4 separate regions of the Homo sapiens genome follow, and all the other regions are linked to region 3. The links are contacts of gene promoters, found by promoter capture Hi-C in blood cells and fetal thymus (Javierre and others, 2016). All regions are on one chromosome and are shown on one strand. The core of a region is centred on a gene start or on the middle of the fragment in contact, and the rest is flanking DNA. Distances in the headings are between cores, read along the strand shown. Region 1 has its middle 5.6 kb from the start of MMP9. Region 2 holds the start of PCIF1 (phosphorylated CTD interacting factor 1). Region 3 holds the start of SLC35H1 (solute carrier family 35 member H1). Region 4 overlaps ZSWIM1 (zinc finger SWIM-type containing 1).

Region 1 (5,880 bases), core at 1,971-4,470, 360 kb before region 3:
TCGCCTCTCATCAGGAGCTGGGCTGGAACTGCTACTTCCAGACCCTGGGAAGCTTCGAGTGCTTCCCTTCCGCTGGCCTTCCTTGCATCCATGCAGAGACTGTGCCATCTTCCCTGCATCCCAGCACCCCCGGCTTCAGGTGTATCAAAGTCCCAGCGCTGCGTGAAGTTCAGGTTTGAACACATCTCAGCAGGCTTTGTGAATACATTAGTTTTTGTTTTCCCCTAACATGCCACAGGGGTGGGAGGAATGGGAGGGGGCACTGGAATTTAATATGCAAATGTATGCAGATCGCATCTAAATGAGGGTGTCCCAGGTTTAATGGGAAGAACAGGCAATCAGAGCAGGCCCAGCCCAGCCTGCAGCCCTGGGGCTCTGCAGCAGCACAGTCAGAAATGACTCTCCGGGGAGGGTGTCTTGGGCTCTTTTACAGAGCGTGTTCTTTGAAGCAATGTCTCCGCAGCACAGGGGAAGGAAGAGCTGCGGAAATTGGTTCTGGATACTTCCTGGCAAAGTGTTCTCAATTGCTTCAACTATGTTGGGGGTGGGTGGGAGAGAGGGGGTAGAATCTCTGAACCTCTCAGTGAACACAGCCAGCAGCGGCTGTCCCTATCAGTGATTTCTAAACCGAAGGAGCTTGCTAACATCTACTTCCAGATCACACTGATTACTAAACCAGAATCTCTTGAGAACCTTTGTTTTTTAAAAGTCCCTGGCTTTAGGAAATACTGACACTAACCAGGCGTTCTTAATCTGGAGACTCTTACAGGTTCCGGGGCCCGGTATAGCAATGTTATTAACCCTTCCTGCATATTAGAATCACCGAGGCTTAAAAAATTTCCCAACGCTCAGGCTGTACCCTAGACCAATTAAGTCAGAATCTACAGGAGGGGAGGTGAAAGTCAGGCATCAGTATTCAAGAGAAAATCCTGAGTGATTCCAATGTGCAATCAAATTTGAGAAGCATTGCTGAACAGGATTCCCACGAGACACTTGTTATACCTGTGCTTGCTTTGGGGCTATTGTTAGCTGCAGGCCCACCACCCGGTGCCAGCTTCAGGAGACCCTCCTTCTAGGAAGGGGACTGGAGGATTGGTGTGCAGCCAGTATGCACTGGTATAGCAGCATTGGTTGTAAAAATACTGAAATATGGCTGGGTGCGGTGGCTCATGCCTGTAATCCCAGTACTTTGGGAAGCCGAGGCAGATGGATCCCTTGAGCTCAAGATTTTGAGACCAGCCTGGGCAACATGGTAAACCCATCTCTATAAAAATTGCAAAAACTAGCCAGGCGTGGTGGAGCGTGCCTGTGGTCCCAACTACTTGGGAGGATCGCCTGAGCCTGGGAGGCACAGGTTGCAGTGAGCCGTGATTGTGCCACTGCACTCCAGCTTGGGCAACAGAGCAAGACCCTGTCTCAAAAATAAAATACTGACATATTTCCCCATCCACTTGTAACTGGGGCTGCTTTGAACTTTCTAAGTTCAAAGCATCACCCTCCCCATCTCCCCAGACCCTGGACATAATCAGTTCTGATTAGTTAGGGCTCCTGAGGACCTGGTTGTTAAATACTTGAACATCACCCCCCGCTATAATGTTGTAGTGAGAAGCACCCACTTTATATAGTCAGAAAGGCCTAGATTCCCACTTGATTTTGGTATGAGTTGTGTGGCTTTTGGACAAGTGGCTTCATCTCTCTGAAGGTCAGTTTCCTCATCTGGAAATGGGGTCAAATGCCCTCCCTATCAGCGTAGGGATGAAGCTGCACTACAGCAGAGGTGGCAAACTGAGCATGCATCAGAATCACTTGGCTGGGCTGGGCACAGTAGCTCATGCTTGTAATTCCAGCACTTTGGGAGGCCAAGGCCAGTGTATCACCTGAGGTCAGGAGTTCGAGACCAGACTGGCCAACATAGTGAGACCCTGTCTCTACTGAAAATACAAAAATTAGCCAGACATGGCCACAAGCACCTGTAGTCCCAGTTGCTCAAAAGGCTGAAGCAGGAGAATTGCTTGAACCTGGGAGGTGGAGGTTGCAGTGAGCTGAGATCATGCCACTGCCCTCCAGCCCGGGTGACAGAACAAGACTCTGTCTCAAAAAAAAAAAAAAAAAAAAAAGGGCCAGGTGTGGTGGCTCACGCCTGTAATCCCAACACTTTGGGAGGCTGAGGCGGGCAGATCACGAGGTCAGGAGTTCAAGACCAGCCTGGCCAATATGGTGAAACCCCGTCTCTACTAAAAAATACAAAAATTAGCCGGGCATGGTGGCGGGCCCCTGTAGTCCCAGCTACTCAAGAGGCTGAGGCAGAAGAATCGCTTGAACCCGGGAGGTGGAGGTTGCAGTGAGTCGAGATCGTGCCACTGCACTCCAGCCTGGGAGACAGAGTGAGACTCTGTGTCAAAAACAAACAAACAAACAAACAAAAACTTTGGCTTGTTAGGTCAAAGATTTCTGGGCCCCACCCCGGAGTTGCTGATTCAATCATTCTGGGGCGGGGAGGATTTGTGTTTCTAAGTTCTCAGGTGCTGCAGGGGCTTCTGGTCCTGGGACTACAGTTTGAGAACCATTGAACTGGAAGATGTATGAGAAAGTGGGCTGGGCCGAGAGTAGAGGCTCAACCCAGGCTTGGAAAAGGGTCAAAATATGTGCCGGTTTCCCTGTGCGCCACATGGACTTCTCCCTCCTGAGCCATTCCCCAGGGCTCTCTCCATCCATTTGTCCAGCAGGGACTGAGCCCCCGCTGAATGCTTAACCTTGGATTTCTCAAAGATTAAGTCCTCTTCCCACCTCTTCCCCATTGTGAGCAGGACCAGATTTACACCTTTAGTGGCTGTGATTACTGAAAATACGGTGCCCCTCCCATCTGTTGTCCAAAGTAAAACAACACTAAACCCTGAAATGACTTCATAAAAAGAACAATAGAGAACTGATTTTTTTTTCCCAAGCTGGCTACTTTGAGGATTTTTTCCAAATATCAAAAACAATATTTTATTTTATTTATTTATTTTGAGACACAGTCTCCGGAGTCTCGCTCTGTCGCCCAGGTTGGAGTGCAGTAGCGCGATCTCAGCTCACCGCAACCTCTGCCTCCTGGGTTCAAGTGATTCTCCTGCCTCAGTCTCCTGAGTAGCTGGGATTACAGGCATGCACCACCATGCCCAGCTTATTTTTGTGTTTTTAGTAGAGACGGGGTTTCACCATGTTGGCCAGGCTGGTCTTCAACTCCCGATCATAGGTGATCCAACTGCCTCTGCCTCCTAAAGTGCTGGGATTACAGGTGTGAGCCACCGCACCCGGTCAAAATCAATATTTTAAATGTGTATTTTGGGACTGCGCCTGCTTTGCTGGGACCCCAAGCATATTCTTACCTGCCAGTGGGCAACCCAGTGTCAAAGGAACCGGTCCCAGGCCCATTCTCTTTCACCTCCATTTTCACATCTCTCCCTGCACAGCACCATCCCTTCTTGTAGACAAGAACTTCTCACCTTAAATAAAACTCCACTTGAGGCTGGGCACGGTGGCTTACGCATGTAATCTCAGCACTTCGGGAGGCCGAGGCGGGTGGACTGCTTGAGGCCAGGAGTTTAAGACTAGCCTGGGCAACGTGGCGAAACCCTGTCTCTACAAAAAAACAAAAATTAGCTGAGCTTGATGGAGCACACCTGTAGTCCCAGATACTCAGAAGGCTGAGGTCGAAGGATGGCTTGAACCCAGAGGCGGAGGCTGCAGTGAGCCTAGATCACATCATTGCACTCCAGCCTGGGTGACAGAGTGAGACCCTGACTCAAAAAAAAAACCCCAAAAAACAAAAAAACCTCCACTTGACTGTTCTCTGCCCTACCAGCTACCTCACTCTTATTTTCCTTTTTTATCTCCAACTTTTCTTTCCTACAGATTTCAGCCAAATAACTCACATCTGTTCCCTCTGTTGGTTCCTAAACATAACTCCTCCAGCCTGGCTTCTGGGCAATCACCCCTCCCTGCCCCTAGACTGCTGCCCCCATGGACTTCCTTTTTGCGAGAGCCAGTGACCTGATCTTAGCACGGGATTGGGAGTCAGAAGGCCTAGGCAGCTGGTCACTCACCAGCTGTGTGACCGTGAGCAACTTAAAGCACTTCTCTGAGCCATGGGTATGAACGTTAATTTGCAAAGTTGAGATGAGAGCATTAGAGTAATAGAATCATAATAGCTAAACTGTGTGTGTGTGTGTGTGTGTACCTGCTAAGAGCCAGGCACTGTGCTGAGAATTTGCCATGTATAATCACATTTAATCCCCACTACAACACCTCCAAATGAGGTCTGCTTCTTTCCCCACTTTACAAATGAGAAAAGGGAGGCACAGAGAGGTAAAGTGATTTGCCTAAAGTCCCACAGCCCATAAATGATAGGTAGTAGAATATGAACCCAGGAGGTCTGATTCCAAAATTTATGCCCTATGGCTTCCTTACTGACGGTGCTCAGTACAGATAAGTGGGAGGTGTGACTTGGTGTTAATAGGGACTCTAAGAGTCAGTGTGGGAATTGCCATTCCCCTGAAGCTAGGGATGGCAGGTGTGTTTGTGGGTTGGGGGTGGGGTACTTGAGTGATGCTCTCCCCTGAGGCAATGTCTTGCAGGATACACACCTTTCTACTTCATCTCAGATTTCAGTGTCTCCTCCACATCCTGCCAGAGCCTCTCTGGCCTGGCTGCCCCTCCCCTCTCTGGCAGGTTTGGGAGAAAGAGGCTTGGAGTTCCCCCATCCTAGATAGCGGGACAGATTCCTCATCTCGTGAGGCTGACCCTGATCTGGGGGCCTGTTATTAATAATGGCCTGCAGGGCTGTGTCATCCAGCTAGTGATTCAGGACTCCAGGGTCAGCACCCTCCCCATCCTGATGGAGCTACCTCAGTGAGGGGCTTAGAGTCTAAGCTATGACTCTACGTGAGGGTATATGCTGTTCTCTGCCTGCACTCCCAGGGTCTTGGCTAAACTCTATTGTGGTATTAAAAAGAGAGGCTGGGGGAAGTGGGGAAGGGGATGTGGTAACCAGAACCACTTCCTGCCACTGCAGTGTTGAAAGCCAAGCTCTGTCCAAGTTCCCCTTGATGGGGGTTGGGGAGCCAGGAGGTAAAGGAGGAAGTTGATGGGAGTTGGGGGGGATGTTAAAAAAAGGAGGATTCTTATTTGGATTGACTCCAGGAATCAAGATCTGGGTTTCCTGGCTGCTCTCTCCCTGCTCCCATTTGGTAAAAAACAGCGGCTGTCCTGAAGGTGGTCCTAATTAGCATAGCAGTGAACACTTATTATCATGTGCCAGGCACTTTATATTTGCTAACACTTTGAGCCTTACAACCACCCCATGAAGGAAGCACTATTATTACTCCAATTTTACAGATGGGGAAACTGAGGCACTGAAATGTTGTGTCAGTTGCCCTTGTCACACAGCAAGTCAGTGGCAGAGCTGAGATTTGAACTTAGGCAGCCTGGCTCCAGAGTGCAGGCTCTTGCTCTGTGACCACTCTGAGCCTCAGTTTCCTCATTGCATGATGAGGGTAATTGGAATACATAAATCCACTTTCCTTTCTTGATGCCTGATTCTCTGGTAATTAATTATTCATTCAATTTCTCCCCATGCTGAACTCTCAGATCCATGAACAATGAGACAAAGGCTATCTTGGTCACTACTTGTATTCCCAATTCTTAGCATAATGATTGGCCTAGAAAAACTCAACTAGAATGTGTTGAGTAAATGGTCTTTAAAAGGTCTGAAGATCATCAACAATGGTTTGAGTATCTGATAAAAGTTTTAGACCCTTTACATAGAAAAATCAACATATACCAGTAGCTGGGGGTGAGTCTGCCCCTCCCACTCACCCAGGGTACATTTGGCAATGTTTG
Region 2 (5,354 bases), core at 2,855-5,354, 430 kb before region 3:
AGAGTGCAGTGGTGCGATCTTGGCTCACTGCAGCTTCTGCCTCCCAGGTTCAAGTGGTGTCCCTGCCTCAGCCTCCGGAGTAGCTGGAACTACAGGCGCGTGCCACCGTGCCCGGCTAATTTTTTGTATTTTAGTAGAGATGGGGTTTCACCATGTTGGTCAGGATGGACTCGATCTCCTGACCTCATGATCTGCCCGCTTAGGCCTCCTGGGATAAAGTGCTGGGATTACAGGTGTGAGCCACCACACCCAGCCCCATATGCTATTCTTAACAATAAAAAGGTTTTAAAAATTTGTCTTTGGGAGGCTGAGGTGGGTGGATCACCTGAGGTCAGGAGTTCGAGACCAGCCTGGCCAACGTGGTGAAATCCCGTCTATACTAAAAATACAAAAAAAAAAAAAAAAAAAAAAAAAAAAACTAGTCGGGCATGGTGGCGGGCACCTGTAATCTCAGCTACTCGGGAGGCTGAGGCAGAAGAATCACTTGAACCTGGGAGGCAGAGGTTGCAGTGAACCGAGATCGCGCCACTGCACGCTAGCCTGGGCGACAGAGCAAGACTCCTTTTCAAAAAACAAAACAAAATTGGGCTGTGTGTGGTGGCTCATGCCTGTAATCCCAGCACTTTGGAAGGCTGAAGCAGGAGGATTGCTTAAGGCAAGGAGTTCAAGGTTACAATGAGCTATGAGTGCACATCAGTCTGGGAGATAGACTGAGACTCTGCTTCTAAAAAAAAGGGGGGTAGGGGTGGGAAACGCCAGCTCTTAAGGTAGTCATTAGAATGGTGAGAAGAGGTTGGGTTTTGTTTTGTTTGAGACGGAGTTTTGCTCCTGTCACCTAGGCTAGAGTGCAATGGTGTGATTTCGGCTCATTGCAACCTCTTCCTCCCGGGTTCAAGCGATTCTCCTGCCTCAGCCTCCTGAGTAGCTGGAATTACAGGCGCTTGCCACCATGCCCAGCTAATTTTTGTATTTTTAGTACAGATGGGCTTTCACCCTGTTGGCCAGGCTGGTCTCAAACTGCTGACCTCAGGTGATCCACCCGCTTTGGCCTCCCAAAGTGCTGGGATTACAGGCGTGAGCCACCGCACCCAGCTGAGAAGAGGCTGGTTTTGACATGCGGAAAGTGAGCAAACGGAGAAGATGAGGCATGTATCAGGTGAAAAGCAGTGCTGAACACTGTGAGATAGAGAAACCTTTAAGATACTTAACTATCCAGGCCGGAGGCGGTGGCTCACGTCTGTAATCCCAGCACTTTGGGAAGCCGAGGTGGGCGGATCACCTGAGGTGGGAAGTTCGAGACCAGCCTGACCAACAGGGAGAAACCCCGTCTCTACTAAAAATACAAAATTAGCCGGGCGTGGTGGCGCATGCCTGTAACACCAGCTACTCAGGAGGCTGAGGCAGGAGAATCGCCTGAACCCTAGAGGCGGAGGTTGCAGTGAGCCGATATTGCACCACTGCACTCCAGCCTGGGCAACAAGAGCGAAACTCCGTCTCAAAAAAAAAAAAAAAAAAAAAGATTGAACTATCCAGGGCCACTGTGTCCACTCAGACCAGTCACATCGCCTGAATCTAGATCCCTTCTTCACAAAACAGGGAGGCCAGAGTGGTTTAATGGAACCAGCCCTGCATTTTGGTGTTGAGAACTCCGGGCTTAAAATCCCAGTTTTGTTACTTGTTGATGGCTGTGTGAACCTGGACAATGACTTCGCCCCTGCCCCTCGCTCCAACCTGTTTGCTCATGTGCAGATTTAGGTAATAATTCACAGAATTCCATGATAAAACAGAAGACTAGGCACTTGGGATGTTTGGTATCTTGGTTATCAATTAAGAGAATCTGAACAATGAATGAGAAAATACTTTGAAAACATAAAAGAATAGATAAAAGGCCGGGCGCGGTGGCTCACGCCTGTAATCCCAGCACTTTGGGGGGCCGAGGCGGGCGGATCATGAGGTCAGGAGTTTGAGACCAGCCTGGCCAACATCGTGAAACACCGTCTCTACTAAAAATACAAATAAAATTAGGTGGGAGTGGTGGCGGGTGCCTATAATCCCAGCTACTTGGGAGGCTGAGGCAGGAGAATTGCTTGAACCCGGGAGGCAGAGGTTGTAGTGAGCCGAGATCGCGCCACTGCAATCCAGCCCGGGCGACAGTGCGAGATTTCGTCTCAAAAAAAAAAAAGGGTAATAATCACTACATGGTTTTTAAACTTTAGTGAAAGCGCGGGCTAGCTGGGGGGCATGAGCATGGAAAACTGGTTATCCCGTAGGTCAAGAGCGACCACGTAGTTTACTGCCCAAAGCAGTACTTTTTTTTGAGACAGGAGTCTCACTCTGTCGCCCAGGCTGGAGTGCAGTGGCGCGATCTCGACTCACTGCAACCTCTGCCTCCCGGGATCATGTGATTCTCCTGCCTCAGCCTCCCGAGTAGCTGGGATTACAGGCGCGCGCCACCAGGCCTGGCTCATGTTTGTAATTTTAGTAGAGACGGGGTTTCGCCGTGTTGGCCAGGCTGGTCTTGAATTCCTGACCTCAGGTGGTCCACCTGCGTCGGCCTCCCAAAGTGCTGGGATTACCGGGGTGAGCCACCACGCCCGGCCCAAAGCAGGGCACTTCTGAAAAAGGAGGCAATATTAGTAATTATGCCAGGGCAGCAGGCATAAATCAAAGCTGGCCCCCCACCCTTCCAGAACTGAGACAGGACCCAGGAGTCTGGTTTCCCATCAGGCCTCTTATCTGAACGAGAAGCTCTGCGAGGGCAGAACTGCTGTGCCTATATAGAGCTGGCTTATTTCTGGAGGGCTCAAATCTACTTGGAGCAATGCTCATGCCACTGTGAGATGATCACGGCTAACCGATTCAGCACTTAGGAAGCGCCAGGTATTGCGCTGAGGACTTCACATGCATCACCTGAGTTAATTCTCACCAAACCTTTATGAGGTAGGCGGATTTATTATCTTCCACTGAGGAAACTAAAATTTAAATTGGTTAACTCCTTCAAGGCCACACATTTTGGGTGGAGGAGCAGGGATTGAAATCAGATGAGGATCATGAACCCTCGTTCTCAATTACTACTCATATCGGTGCCTCCGTTTTTCTTGAGCGTCCGCCTGCCTGCCCCCACGCTGGCGTGCAGCCAGGACCATGGACATCTGAGAGGCTACTCAGCCGGGGTACCTACAGCCCCTGGCTCCACACAAGCGCCGGTCTGACAGCAGGTGGCAAGCTTTTCCTCTTCTCAAGCTAGCACTGGAAGGGATGCTTGCTGGGGAGACCGGAGATGGGTGGAGCTACCACTCGGACGCCTGCAGGCTCCTACCAAAAAGAATCCTGCAGGGAGCCGGATGAGGAGCACCTCACAGCTGCCAGTTCCCTGCCAGGCTACCCGCTGTAGCTGGTTTGAGGGCTCAGTGAGGCTTTGAACTGCAACTAATGGCCACAGATGTCAATGTTGGAAAGGCCCTACAATGCATTTAGTTGATTTCCCAACTCTGCCGAAAGCCATCTCTATTACTTGCCCCCGAAGGCTAGTTTAAGTTGCTTCTACTCAAGAGCATTTACAGCTTGGGTTCGATGTATATGTAGCCCGGGCATGGGGCAGGGCTTCTTAACATTTGGACACCACGCAGCACAAAGGCCCAGAGAGGGAAAGAGACTGGCTGGAAGAGGCAGAGCCGCGCGGGTGCCAGGACCCAGGTCCTTGCTACGTCCGGAGCCTACGTCACCACGATGCCTCCCCTGGGCCGGCGGCAGAACCCGAGACCCCCGCAGGTTCTAAGACAGCCCCCACGCCCCCCAGTGCGCACGCTCAGTCCAACCCCGCCGCGCACCGCCCACCGCGAACATCCGGCTCCTGCGTGTGTGCTCGAGGGGGAAACTGAGGCGGGGACGTGCCAGTGAATTCATTCCTTCCTCAGTCCACCCGCAGGCCTACAAAGCTGTCTCCCCTTCCTCAGCGCCACAAGGAACAGCAGGGACGGATGGGAAGAAGGGGAGGGGGCCGAAAGCAAGCTGGGTGCGAGGAGCCAGCCGACCCTGCCACACTCAAGATGGCGGCGCGGCCGCGGCGAGGTCCCTCAGAGGCGGTACCAGCGCATGCGCAGCGCGGAGTCCCGGCCCGGGACACAAGATGGCGGCAGCGGCGCTGGGGAGGGCGAGGCGGAGGCGGCAAAACGGGCGGTCGAGCAGAACGTGTAGCCGCGTCCCCTCCAGTCCGCTCCGGGCAGGTAAGAGTCCCAGGAAGCCATGGTCCCGCAGCGAGCCGCGCCAGGGTCTGGGGATCCGAAGCTGGGGGGCGGCGGCCCCTCCGGCGCTTTCTGCTCGGGACTGCCGCTTGCCCTGTCTCTGTTGCCGCCGCCATCTTAGACCCGCGGGTGGGCGGCCGCGCCGGTGGCCGAAGTGAGGGAGGTGGGCCCGGAGAGCCCCAGCGGAGCGGGCTCTAGGGCCCCTCCGCTGCTGCCGCCGCCACCGCCTTTGTGTCGGGCTCCGACTCTGAGTCGCCTCAGCCCGGGGGCGGGAGCGCGCGGCGGGGCGGGGGGCGGAGCCCGAGAGATGGGCCGGCGCGCGCGCGCGCGCCAAACAGCCCACCCTCGCTGGGGTAGGGGGAGGGGAAGGTGCGCGCGCGCGCGCGCGCTGGAGCTCGCCTCTCGCCTTCGTGCGCCGTCGCGCCTGCGTACTTTGTTCGCCCTTTGACTCCTCCCTACTGGGCCGGAGAATTCTGATTGGTACATTGCGGAGATGGTCCCGCCCCACGTGCCTCCAATCCCGGACTCGGACTCTGGCTTCTGGTGGGTTTTTCTGGTTGCGCAGATAGAGTTGTTTATCCTTGAGCAGCGGTAATTCTCAAACTGCGGTATGCGTGGGGGTCGGGAAGCCACAGGATAAATAAAGACGTTAACTTAAGAGCAGTTATGTCTTACTGGGAGCGTACAATGCTGGACTCTACATATAACGGTCGAGTGATTCCGGTTTATAAGCCGGAAAGCAGAAGGGCCCGGAATCCGGGTCTGTCCAACCCAGGGGCTGGTACTTCGGCCACAGACCTGCTGCGCTCAAGTCACATAGGAAATTAAAAATGGTTTTAATTGCAAAAAATGGGTACATTTTTTCAAATAGTGTGAAAAAATGAGTCATCCTGTCTCCCAGTCACTCTTACGGTGCGTTTTAAAAATACAAATTCTTGTGTGCCTCACCTCCGTATTTATTTCTGGCTTCTGAGATGCGCAGTGAGGCACAGGAGTCTGATTTTTTTTTTTTTTTTACAAACTCCAAGATGATTCTGATGCACAGCTGGCTTTGGAAATACTGCAGTGTCCCCATTTAGCCTCACACTAAGCTGTGCCGCTTGTGCGTAT
Region 3 (5,665 bases), core at 1-2,500:
TGGACTCCTTATTGGTCTTTTTTGCTGGCACCTTCTTGTCAACTCAATCTATAAAAATTGGGTGCCTAAAGCTTGGAACCTGGCTTCTCTTCTCTCTTAAATCTTACCCTACATAATCTCATCCTACCCAATCCACTTGCCAATGATTTCTAAATTCTTTACATCAGCCCTGACCTTTTCTGTATCAGACTCATATATCTAACTGCCTATTTGGTAGCTGCACTCCAAATATCTAAAACTTAAGATGCCCTAAGAAGATTTCGTAATTATTTCTCACGCTCCCAATCTATCCCAAAGTCATTTAGTAAATGCCAGCATAATACACTTGGTTACTTAAGCCAAAACCAAAAATCTATGATGAAGTCATCTTTGACCACTTATTTCTGTCATTTCTCAAATCCTGCCCTGTCAGTTCCACTTTCAATACACTTCTTGACCCCTCTACTTCTCTTCCTCTCCATTCCCACTACCACAGTCTAAGCCACAATTATCTTTCACCTGCTGACTGCCACTGGTCTAACTGGTCTCCCTGTTTCCTCTTTCGCCCCTAAGGCCTGGAATCTATAAAGCAGCCAGAGAGATGGCACACGAAACAGATCATGCCCTAAGGCTAAGCCCAGCTCCTCAGCCTGGTCCACAAGGAAGGCCTCTGTAACCTCATTCTTCTGCCACTGGTCCCAGCACCCGCCACAGCGGCCCCCTGCCACGTGTCAAACACATCAAACCTGTGTTTTTCTTTACTTGCTGCTCTTCCTGCCTTCAGCTCCCTTCCGCAGACCTCCGCTTGGCTGAATACTTTCTCCAATGCCCCACCCCTCCCAATCCTCGTGGCACTCCCACCTCTGACGTTTCCTTGTTTGCTCACGTGTTTACTGCCCGCCCCAATCCCACCGCGGGAAGCAGCCCCTCAGAGGGCAGGGCCGTGTCCGATTCCGGCCCGGGTCCCGCACCCAGGACGTCGCAGGTGCTCAGGAAATACCAGATGAGCCGGCGTCCGGCAGGTGCCTTGCAGGAGGGCGCTTGGAGACCCCTGCCCCCTCCACAGACGGCGAAACTGAGGCCCGGGGAGGGGCAGGGGCGTGGCGTGCCCCATGTCAACCCGCGCAGATCCCGGGTGGGGAGCCCGCTTCCCTTCTCCAGCCCCGGCCCCCCAGCCTCTGGGAGTGCGCCGGGAGGCCGGCCGCACACCCACTCACCTCGGCCCTGGGAGCTCCAGGCCGGAATCTCCCCACCGGAAGTGCGAGGCCGGATGCCGCCGCCGAACCGCGGCACGGGCGGTAACTTCCGCCGGAAGCTACCCAGGGGCTGGGCGGAGCCGGGGCGAAAAGGCGGGGCGGGGCAGCACGGGGGCGGGGCGTCTGTTGTGGTCGGGTTCTGAGGTGGTCTGGTCTTTCTGAGGTACAGCGTAGTTTTGTCCTCCGCGAAGTCCCTCAGGCTCAGAGCACAGCCGTGTAATTGTCTGCGTCTCTCCCGCGCTCAATCAGGGGCTTGCTTTGGAACCCCGGTGCCTGCTAGTGTTCTGCATACAGTGAGCATCCAAAAAATGGTAACTTGTTTACTTTTACTGAACAAATTGTTTTTCTTATGTCCAGTCTAATGCTGGGCAACCATGGAATGAACCACGAAGATAAGTATCTCATGGGCTTTTTCTTCTGGGAGCTCAGGCCAGCTGGGGCCATTACAACTTAAAACTTGGGCGATCCAGAAGTAATACGAAACATTTGTGAAATATTTTCTGTATGAAACTTTCTAAGAATTATCTCAACTTCAATAGGTTGAGTAGGGAGAGAGCATCCCAGATAGAGGAAATGGGAGAATCCTAAAGGAGGGTGAGAAAGCTCCAGCCGTGCCTGGGGCTCACAGGTTGTTTGTAACTGTGGTGGTTAAAGTAGCCAAGAGGCAGGTTGCAGTGGCCCCAAAATGCCAGCCTAGGGAGTTCAGATTTTCTTCATCTTGCGGGATGGATTAAAAGGGCAGCATTTGCAGTCAAGAACATTAGGCCAGGGCAAGCTAGGGTTGCACATTCAGACCCAGTTTTGTGCCTTTCGCCCTCCTCTAGCCTCCTCCTGGGCTCTCTGGCAGTAAGACCAGCTGCAAACATGGATCCTTACAAGTGACTCAGCTGGGATCCCTGGCCCCTCTGAACAGAAGGCTCAAGGCCAGAGTGTAAGCAGTGTTTTATGCAAACTGCGGCTGTCACCGCCGCCAGCTGGCATCATGCAGGCATTAGTTCATTCAGTGCTTACCAAGCACCTACAATGGTACCCATCACTGCCCAAGGTCTTGGCTTTATTCAGTCCTCAGGCTTGTATTGCATGCACTTTCTATGCCTTTTGAAAGAGCCTGTCCTCACACCCTTCTCTCTCAGAGGCAAGAGATCTATTTTCATCACCACCCTCATTTAAGTCTCCCAGCTACCAAGGCCAAGGTTTGGAGCAACAGCCTAAAACACCAGCTGGAAGGCTGGGCACTATGCACAGGCAACACACAGGGTAAAGAGCGTGTCTTCTTTGTAAGGCACAAGTACTCGAGCTGTTCCCTGGCTGTGTCCCTGGCAGGGAGAAGAGGGAGGATGTGTTCATGGGGGTGTACAGTATGCCTTACCTTGCTGTACCCAGCAGGGTTGAGCAGAAAACGCTTCGTCCCAGTGCAGCAATCTGTGAACACTCTTAACCAGCAGGTGTGTGTCTGTGTGTGTGTATGTGTGGGAGGAGCGAATGATGAGGAGGAAGGGACTCTTGGAAGGTGACTAAGGGCTCCAGCTGGAGCTCTCCAGAGTCTCCCAGATACATGGAGATCAAGTCTTGTCAAGGTGAAATCTTCACCATTGGGCAGGGGGCAAGTACAGACAAACAGCTGTTAACAGGAACCACAGTTTGTACATGAAAGAGTATTTATTGAAAACATGGTTACTGACAGGAAGCTCCTGGCTGCTCTCTGGTTACAATCTTGGCTCACAACTGGAAGTGTTACATACTTTTTACTTCCCCTCAATTTTATTTTTCCCCAAGGTTCCATCCTAAGATAGGTAGATCTTATATAAATATATATACACGTCTGTATAAGTATGGCCTATAGTAATGAAAATATATAGTACACTCTTCATTGGGTAGTACCTACCATGCCAGGCCACCAATACTGAATGCCAATGTGCTAACGTATGTCCAGGGAGAGAGGCTGTGTGTGTGGTTTACAAGTGCTGCAGCACCAGGGAAGCCCCACTGGCACAGGTGTGGCCTCAGCCGGCCTCAGCCAGCTCCCTGAAATCATGGCCAATGGCAGAAACCATAGCACTAGGAAGGGAAGGCCAACTTCCTGGGGTCTGGAAGGCCAAAGGAAAGCAAACTGGAGGGGGCTGCAATTCAGGTTAGGGGAGATTTCTCTCTGAGGAAGGAAAAGGTATTAATGTGGGGGAAGAGCAGTAGAATCTAGTGACCTCACCACAGTCTAGGCCCAGGCCTCAGCTGGGTTTTCCCTGCAGCGTTCCTGGAGACTTAAGAGGGCAGGACTTGGCCAGGAGGTCTTTGACTTGCTGGGATGAGACTGAGCGCTTGCAGGGAGAAATTTCCGTCTGCTCTGATATCTGTATGGGCCAGAGAGATCTGGTGGCTCTAAAGACCAGAGATGTTAGAGCCAACCTCAGAAGCAGCAACGTCTTGGCACCATATGAAGCTGGAGTGAGCCCTCATCAAAAAAGACAAAAGCAAAAGCCTCAGGCTTGTACTCAGATCTAAGATACAGGTAGTCACTTCAAGGCTCTCAACACGCCCAACACACCTGTCCTCTGCAGGCAGCCTTTCCTGGGCCAGCTGTTGCTCACGTGGGGATCCAGCTGATCAGAGAGCAGGCTCAGGAGGAAAAGGTGAGTGGCTGTTGTTAAATCCATTTCAAGAAGCAGTTTCTTGGACTGGAAGGCAAGGGCATCTGCTGTTTGTTCCTCGTGGCCCAATCCCAGGCTTCATGGTGATGGAGTGGGCAGAGCACCCTGCCTTCATGACTCTTAGTAGACAGGGACCAAGAGGAAACTCTGGGTGGTCCGAGGTGGGTTTGAGAAATGGCTGGCATTTACTGGCCACCAAAATCACTACAGATTCTGTACAAGCAAAAGACAAGGCACCAGAATGTAAGTGTTTCTCCTGGGCCCAAAATCCCTTCTCCTGGGTACCGTCGTTTCTGGCTCCAGGCTCAGCCATAGTGATAGACAAAGTCATAGCTGCTGGGCTCCTTGGGGATGGGGGGTGGGGCTTCGGGAATCTGGATGTTCTCCAGGTCCAGGAGCCGCAGCTTCATCTCCATGCTCAGCAGGGTGTCCAGGTCACTCTTGGTCAGCTCACTGGACATGTCCTTCCCCAGAAGGGCACTGAGGCCATCAATCCAGATGCAGTACTGTGGGGAGCAAGTTGCAAAATGTCACATCGTGACCCCTGGTCAGCAGGAGATCCTGCCAAGGTCTCTTTTCTGATGGGGCTCACAACAGTTCCTTTTGGAACTAATCAGTATAGGCAAAACTGATTTGGAATGATAGCAAAGATAAATTAGGAGGTGATCCTTCACTTTCTCAAGAGATCTGGTTTTTATAAGGGGTTTTATATTACAACTCCTTACAATAATATGAAGGAGAACCTAAAAATGCAATAAACGAATACAGCAAAATGAGATCTGAGTACTGGGGCATCATCTACCTGAAGTTACCCAAAATCAGAAGCGAGAGAAGGGAAATATGTATTAGGTGAAAAGAAGCAAGACACAAACAGAAGTCACTGTGGGATCTCAATTTTGTGCCCCGCCCCCCCGAAAACAAAATTAAAAATAATCCAGTCAATACATATTAAAGAGTAAATACTAAAGAAATGGAACTGGTGGGTCTCATGCTAAGAGGGGGTGACCAGGAAGCCTTCTGATCCCACCGCTCCCTGACTCTTCCTGCTTCCTCTGCTGCCATTTTCCTTTTTCCACACCGTTGCTCACCTGGTTCCCCACTTGCTTGTTCTTCATTTCCTCTCAACCAAATTCCACTAGCGGCAGCTCAGGCCCTGCCCAAGTGTCTCCTCTGCCAGAAGTCCCACCTCTAGTTCCCAGTGATGGCTCTCAGAGCTCACCAGGCACATAGGGTCTCAAATGCAATCACTCATTTAATATCTAGTATCTTCCAGTGCTGCAGATGGAACTACAGGGCCCTTGTCAGAAGGACCAGTTCCATCTGGCTTCAAAGTCCACACTGGATCCATTACAACATGTGACCAGGAGCCCCTAGGAGGAAGGATCTGTCAAGTTCTCTTGGGTAGCTGACCACAGAGAAACTGAAAAGGGGAGAATTTTCCCAGTCCCAGGTAAATGACTCATTCCTAGTTGACCTTATCTTTGTAATGACAACCTATGGCTGCTGCTGAAGAGTAATGTGGAGAGCCCAGCTCACAGATAAACAATCCAGAGTGTGACAGATCCTTGGCAGCCACCCAATGCGCCTGGAGGAACCTCAGGTCCAGCATTATGTAATGATACCTGCTGCTTCATCTGGGTGCCCCCCCAACCACAGCTCCTCCTTTGAGACATTCCCATCCTATTGAAATGCCACCTTCTTCTCAAAGCCTTCCTAGGCTTCAATATACACTGCAGCCACCCACCACAGGGGACTTTCCTGTTTTGCTCATTCCTGCCACCAACT
Region 4 (6,010 bases), core at 1,763-4,262, 480 kb before region 3:
AAGACTCAACTTTCAGCTACTTACAGAGTAATGGTGGGCAAGTCACTTAGCTTCTTTGAGCCTTAGTTTATCATCTGTAAAATGAGGACAGTAACTCGGTCTGGGGCCAAATAGAGGAAACAATGGAATAGAGTATTGCTGCTAAAAGAGGGATATAGTAGAGGCAGGAGAAGCTATGCACATTTGTTAGCCATATTTTATGGTGGAAGGGATTGAGGCTCAGAGAGGGTCATTGACTTGCCCAAGATAACACAGCAAGTTTGGAGCAATTGCAGTTCTCTTATACATACCAGGACCAAAGGAAAGAATGGATGCCAATCAGTCATTTATAAATATAAAATCGTATTTTTATTTTATTTTATTTTTTGAGACAGAGTTTCACTCTGTCACCCAGAGCTGGAGTGCAGTGGCGCAATCTCGGCTCACTGCAACCTCAGCCTCCTGGGTTCAAGCAGGTCTCCTGCCTCAGCCTCCCGAGTAGCTGAGACTACAGGCATGGGCCACCATACCCGGCTAATTCTTTTTGTATTTTTAGTAGAGACGGGTTTTCACCATGTTGGCCAGGCTGGTCTCGAACTCCCAACCTCAAGTTATCTGCCCACCTTGGCCTCCCAAAGTACTGGGATTACAGGTGTGAGCCACTGCACCTGGCTAGAATGCTATTTTTTTAAAAGGCCATATGCAGCTCTGGCCATACCTATTTAAATCCCCTGGAACCATATCTTTCCATAGCTAACTTCTTATCATTTAGATTTCAGCTCCAATGTCATCCTTCTCCCCTGAGAGGCCTTCCATTACCACTTTAACTAAAGTATCCCTCCCTTCCCCAGCTTACTCTCTGACATGTTACTCAGGTTTATGGTCTTTGTAAGCTTCATTATTGGATATATATTTGCTTATTTGTTTACATGTTTATTGTGTATCTTCCCCTAGAACAGTGCTGACATATAGTAAGTGTTCAACAAATATTGTGTGGATGAATAATTGAAGAGCCAGGTCCCTGCTGTCTCCTTAAACCTCTGTTACTCTCCATAGGCCCATCTTTGGAAAAAAGATCTGGGAATGATTGTCTAGCCTCCAGCCTCAACTTACTTGATGCTTGAGAGACTCAAAGCCCCGTGGTCAGCTGCCCTGCAAAGAAAGTATTTTGACCTTGGCATTTGGACAGCTCCCATCTCTCCCATGGCCCTGACAATGCTGAATGGGCTCCTGATTAAGGACTCAAGCCCACCTATGCTGCTGCACCAGGTTAACAAGACTGCCCAGTTAGATACCTTCAACTACCAGAGCTGCTTTATGCAAAGTGTCTTTGACCATTTCCCTGAGATCTTATTTATCCACCGGACCTATAACCCAAGGGGTAAGGTCTTATATACCTTCCTGGTGGATGGACCTCGGGTGCAGCTGGAGGGTCATCTTGCCCGAGCAGTCTACTTTGCCATCCCTGCCAAGGAGGACACTGAAGGCCTGGCCCAGATGTTCCAAGTATTCAAGAAGTTTAATCCAGCATGGGAGAGAGTCTGTACCATCCTGGTGGATCCTCATTTCCTTCCACTGCCTATCCTAGCTATGGAGTTCCCCACAGCTGAGGTCCTTCTCTCAGCCTTCCACATTTGTAAGTTCCTCCAGGCCAAGTTCTATCAGCTGTCCCTTGAACGGCCCGTGGAAAGGCTGCTCCTGACCTCCCTGCAGAGCACAATGTGCTCAGCCACAGCAGGCAACCTGAGAAAGTTGTATACACTCCTGAGCAACTGCATCCCTCCAGCCAAGCTGCCCGAGCTTCACTCACACTGGCTGCTCAACGACCGCATCTGGCTGGCTCACCGCTGGAGAAGCCGAGCTGAGAGCAGCCACTACTTCCAGAGCCTCGAGGTCACCACCCACATCCTCAGCCAGTTCTTTGGTACCACCCCATCTGAGAAACAAGGTATGGCTTCTCTGTTCCGTTACATGCAGCAGAACTCTGCAGACAAGGCAAACTTCAACCAGGGCCTGTGTGCCCAGAACAATCATGCTCCCTCAGACACCATCCCCGAAAGCCCCAAACTGGAGCAGCTGGTAGAATCCCACATCCAGCACTCCCTCAATGCCATCTGCACAGGGCCAGCAGCCCAACTGTGCCTGGGCGAGCTTGCTGTGGTCCAGAAATCCACACACCTCATTGGCTCTGGCTCAGAAAAGATGAACATACAGATCCTGGAAGATACCCATAAGGTGCAGCCCCAGCCCCCTGCCAGCTGCAGCTGCTACTTTAACCAGGCCTTCCACCTGCCCTGCCGCCACATCCTAGCCATGCTCAGTGCCCGCCGCCAGGTGCTCCAGCCCGACATGCTGCCGGCTCAGTGGACGGCAGGCTGTGCTACCAGTCTAGACAGCATCCTGGGCAGCAAGTGGAGTGAGACCCTGGATAAGCACCTGGCAGTGACTCACCTCACCGAGGAGGTGGGTCAGCTGTTGCAGCACTGCACCAAGGAGGAGTTTGAGCGGAGGTATAGCACCCTGCGGGAACTGGCCGACAGCTGGATTGGGCCTTATGAGCAGGTCCAACTCTGATTATTCTCGATGCCCAGAGATGCTCATGCACCTGTGCACACTCACATCCACCCATACACACACACACACACACACACACACACACACACACACTCCCTTACACTGTTGTACTTCCGTGGGCCCTCCTTCCAGAACAAGGACAACAAGGACAAGGTTGAAGGGTCTTCTCATCTACCATGGCCTGCTACCTAGCATGTGTCTAGCTCAATGAGACAGGAGTCAGCAAATCTTAATCTGTTTAGTTTACTCAGGTGGCCACATACAGTCTCTGTTGTATATTCTTGGTTTTGTTTTAATATTTTTTTTCTTTTTTTTTTTTTTTTTTTTTTTGAGAAGGAGTCTGTCTCCGTCACCCAGGCTGGAGTGCAGTGGCGCAATCTCTGCTCACTGCAAGCTCCACCTCCTGGGTTCACACCATTCTCCTGCCTCAGCCTCCCGAGTATCTGGGACTACAGGCGCCCGCCACAATGCCGGGCTAATTTTTTGTATTTTTAGTAGAGACGGGGTTTCACCGTGTTAGCCAGGATGGTCTCGATCTCCTGACTTCGTGATCTGCCCGCCTCGGCCTCCCAAAGTGCTGGGATTACAGGCGTGAGCCATCGCACCCGGCCTGTTTTAACATTTTCATAAGGTAAAAACCTTTCTTAGCTCAAAGGTCTTTAAAAAAGCAGGCAATCCAGCTGGGCATGGTGGCTCACGCCTGTAATCCCAGCATTTTGGGAGGCTGAGGTGGACAGATGACTTGAGGTCAGGAGTTCAAGACCAGCCTGGCCAACATAGTGAAACCCTGTCTCTACTAAAAATACACAAATTAGCCAGGTGTGGTGGCGGGGGCCCTGTAATCCCAGCTACTCGGGAGGCTGAGGCAGGAGAATCGCTTGAACCTGGGAGGCAGAGGTTGCAGTAGGCCAAGATCCTGCTGCCACTGCACTCCAGCCTGGGAGGGTGAGACTCCATCTAAAAAAAATAAAATAAATGGCAACCCCTGGTCTAAGATAAGAGATAAAACATCAGGTGGTGAGGTTGAGGTTTGGGGCTTGGTAGCAGTTGCCCCAGTCATGAGATGACTCACTTAACCCGTCTCCTTTAAGTGAGCTGGGCTGGGAGGCTTCCTACAGGGGAAGAGGCCCCTCTGGGGAGCTGACTCAGCCAGGCTCCCTGAACTTTTTTCCTTGTCCCATCCTGGGGTCAATAAAACTGAATGTTGCATATTCTAGCACTTGTCTAGTTTTTTTTTTGTTCCATAGAAGGCAGTTTAGGGTATATCATGGAGAGAATAGACTTTAGAGTGTTATACAACATGTGAATCCTGGTTGGTTCCTTCCCTGCTTGATTTTTGTGCCTGGTTCTGCCTTTTACTAGCTATGAGACTTATTAGGATAAGTTACCCCTCTAAACCTCAACCTGATTATCTGTAAAAATGGGGATCTCCACAGGGTATGTTCACAGAGCAGGCATACCTAGTGGGTGCTCAATTAAGTATTAATTTTCCTTCCTTGCCTATGGTCCTATGACCTGCCTTCAACATGCTGGGAAATTTAAGGCAAGAGGAGAATTCAAATACCTAGGACTTAATATAAGAAATTCTGGCCAGGCATGGTGGCTCACACCTGTAATCCCAGCACTTTGGGAGGCCGAGGCAGGCGGATCACCTGAGGTCGGGAGTTTGAGACCAGCCTGACCAACATGGTGAAACCGTGTCTCTACTAAAAATACAAAAATTAGCCGGGCGTAGTGGCAGGCACCTGTAATCCCAGCTATTCGGGAAGCTGAGGCAGGAGAATCACTTGAACCTGGGAGACGGAGGTTGCAGTGAGCCAAGATCATGCCATTGCACTCCAGCCTAGGTGACAGAGCAAGACTCTGTCTAAAAGATAAAAATTAAAAAAAAAAAATTCTGGGTAGGCCAGGTACGGCGTCTCACGCCTCTAATCCCAACACCTTGGGAGGCCAAAACAGGCAGATTGGAGCAGCCTGGGCAACATGGCAAAACCCCTTCTGTACAAAAAATACAAAAATTAGCTGGATGTAGCACGTGCCTGTAGTCCCAGCTACTCAGGAAGGCTGAGGTAGGAAGATCACTTGAGCCCAGGAGGTTGAGGCTGCAGTGAGCTGTGATTGTGCCACTGCACTCCAGCATTGGTGACACAGTGAGACCCTATCTCAAAAAAAAAAAAAATTCTGATCAAGTCTTCAAAACAACATAAAAGCAGCCTTAACTCTCCAAGCAGGGGCCCCTACCTCAGATAATTTCCATTGTATCTACCTGACAAAACCTATCTCCTGTCTTAGTGGTATCTGGAGAAACTTTAGGGTCTGGAAGTCCCTGATGAAGGACTGGAATTTGTCAGAATGGCTCAACCACCAGCTCTATCCCCATCCCTGCCATAGGCCCTCCTCCCAACCCTGTCTGCCCAAGAACCATACGGAGAAACCACCCTACATATCTGGTGCTATTTCATCCATCTACAAGCAGGAGCCAGGAGGCTGGCCCCTTTTAGATCTCACTAGGGGCATCTTCCCAGAGGCTGTGTGGGCATGTGCCTGCTCCCACCGCGCCCCCTCCACAGCACCCTCTGGCTCCGGATGGGCCATCATGAAAGCTTGAGCGGCCCAGATCAGGTCCTCTTCCCGAACTCCTGGGACGGGCACGGTGGGGATGCCAGCGATCATCATGGCGAGGGTGAGGATGCAGATATCAGGCTGGGAGCTGGCCTCCTTCCCCACTGCCTCAGAGGGTACCGGTAGAACCCGTGGTGACAGCCCACACAGCATCAGGGGCCTAGGCCTGCTGGGGCCACCCAGGTCAGGGGCTCTGCTTCTGGAGTAGCCATTGTCCCAGCCCAAGCTCTCCAGCTGCCTCACATGCGGGAATTTGTGGCAGTTTCGGCTGTATTCCTTCCGTAGTGTCTCCCAGCTAGTCCCCCCAGGGCAGCCCCTGGCTTGTGGCATTGCCAGGGCTGGGCCCCAGGCCTGGGCAGCAGGTGCCACCTGCTCAGCTTTCTGGCTCAGTGGGCCTGTTCCACCAGAGGCCACCACCACTGGCTCTACAGGACTACAGAGGCCAAGGGACAAGCCTGGAGAAGCAGCCCCACCTGCAGAGACAGGAATGAAATGGAACGTTATTCTCAGTTCTTTGAGGAGGGGGCCCTGAGGGGCAGGGCATGGGAGCAGAGCTTGGGGGCGTAACTAAGACCAGCCCCAGCGGACTGTCTAGAGGTTGGGAACTAGGTGTTACTCATATCCACACTCCCAGTCCCCAACACGGAGTAGGTGATGGAGAAGCGTTTGTTGAATTAATGAATAGTGAGCAAGCGGGTAGTTATTGATTGGCAAGGATGTTTGGAATGGCTTTTCTTCTAAAAGAATTGATTCTAGGGCCAGCCCCCAAATGCCCAGCAGAACCGCCACCTCCCCAGAGCCAGAAAGCAACTTCTCAGGGGAAGCTGCCGCACTC

The links. The method cuts DNA at HindIII sites, captures the fragments that hold promoters and counts their contacts. A CHiCAGO score of 5 or more calls a contact.
Region 1: a contact is called between a fragment that was not itself captured here and the fragment with the promoter of SLC35H1 in region 3, in 1 of 17 cell types (non-activated CD4 T cells). The highest score is 5.2, in non-activated CD4 T cells.
Region 2: the fragment with the promoter of PCIF1 here is called in contact with the fragment with the promoter of SLC35H1 in region 3 in 4 of 17 cell types (total CD8 T cells, non-activated CD4 T cells, fetal thymus and 1 more); the score reaches 8.3 in total CD8 T cells.
Region 4: a fragment that was not itself captured here is called in contact with the fragment with the promoter of SLC35H1 in region 3 in 2 of 17 cell types (fetal thymus and total B cells); the score reaches 7.0 in fetal thymus.

The regions. Positions count from the first base shown.
Region 1 is chr20:46,000,334-46,006,213 of GRCh38, forward strand. No RefSeq gene overlaps it. Among named protein-coding and RNA genes, the nearest start is that of MMP9, 5.6 kb to the right of the region's middle. RefSeq lists enhancers at 3,679-4,330, 4,331-4,982. The HindIII fragment of the contact is 6,341 bases long and covers 51-5,880 here.
Region 2 is chr20:45,930,579-45,935,932 of GRCh38, forward strand. It overlaps PCIF1 (phosphorylated CTD interacting factor 1), which reads left to right and starts at 4,105. Exons shown (of 17, transcript NM_022104.4): 1 at 4,105-4,226. LOC107985388 (pre-mRNA-splicing factor cwc22-like) reads right to left here and starts at 4,493. Exons shown (of 1, transcript NR_171669.1): 1 at 2,916-4,493. RefSeq lists enhancers at 2,031-2,723, 3,006-3,155, 3,415-4,106, 4,107-4,797 and a silencer at 4,426-4,635. The HindIII fragment of the contact is 3,152 bases long and covers 3,225-5,354 here.
Region 3 is chr20:46,363,175-46,368,839 of GRCh38, forward strand. SLC35H1 (solute carrier family 35 member H1) reads right to left here and starts at 1,251. Exons shown (of 10, transcript NM_015945.12): 1 at 1,197-1,251. LOC124904917 (a long non-coding RNA gene) reads left to right here and starts at 1,365. Exons shown (of 3, transcript XR_007067614.1): 1 at 1,365-1,546. It overlaps ELMO2 (engulfment and cell motility 2), which reads right to left. Exons shown (of 22, transcript NM_133171.5): 22 at 2,876-4,386. The coding sequence ends at 4,186. RefSeq lists a silencer at 972-1,391 and an enhancer at 5,416-5,645. The HindIII fragment of the contact is 17,737 bases long and covers 70-5,665 here.
Region 4 is chr20:45,881,498-45,887,507 of GRCh38, forward strand. ZSWIM1 (zinc finger SWIM-type containing 1) reads left to right here. Exons shown (of 2, transcript NM_080603.5): 2 at 1,036-3,769. The coding sequence starts at 1,096. The coding sequence ends at 2,553. SPATA25 (spermatogenesis associated 25) reads right to left here. Exons shown (of 2, transcript NM_080608.4): 2 at 4,994-5,648. The coding sequence ends at 5,020. Among named protein-coding and RNA genes, the nearest start is that of SPATA25, 3.1 kb to the right of the region's middle. RefSeq lists enhancers at 4,836-5,336, 5,337-5,837. The HindIII fragment of the contact is 4,284 bases long and covers 871-5,154 here.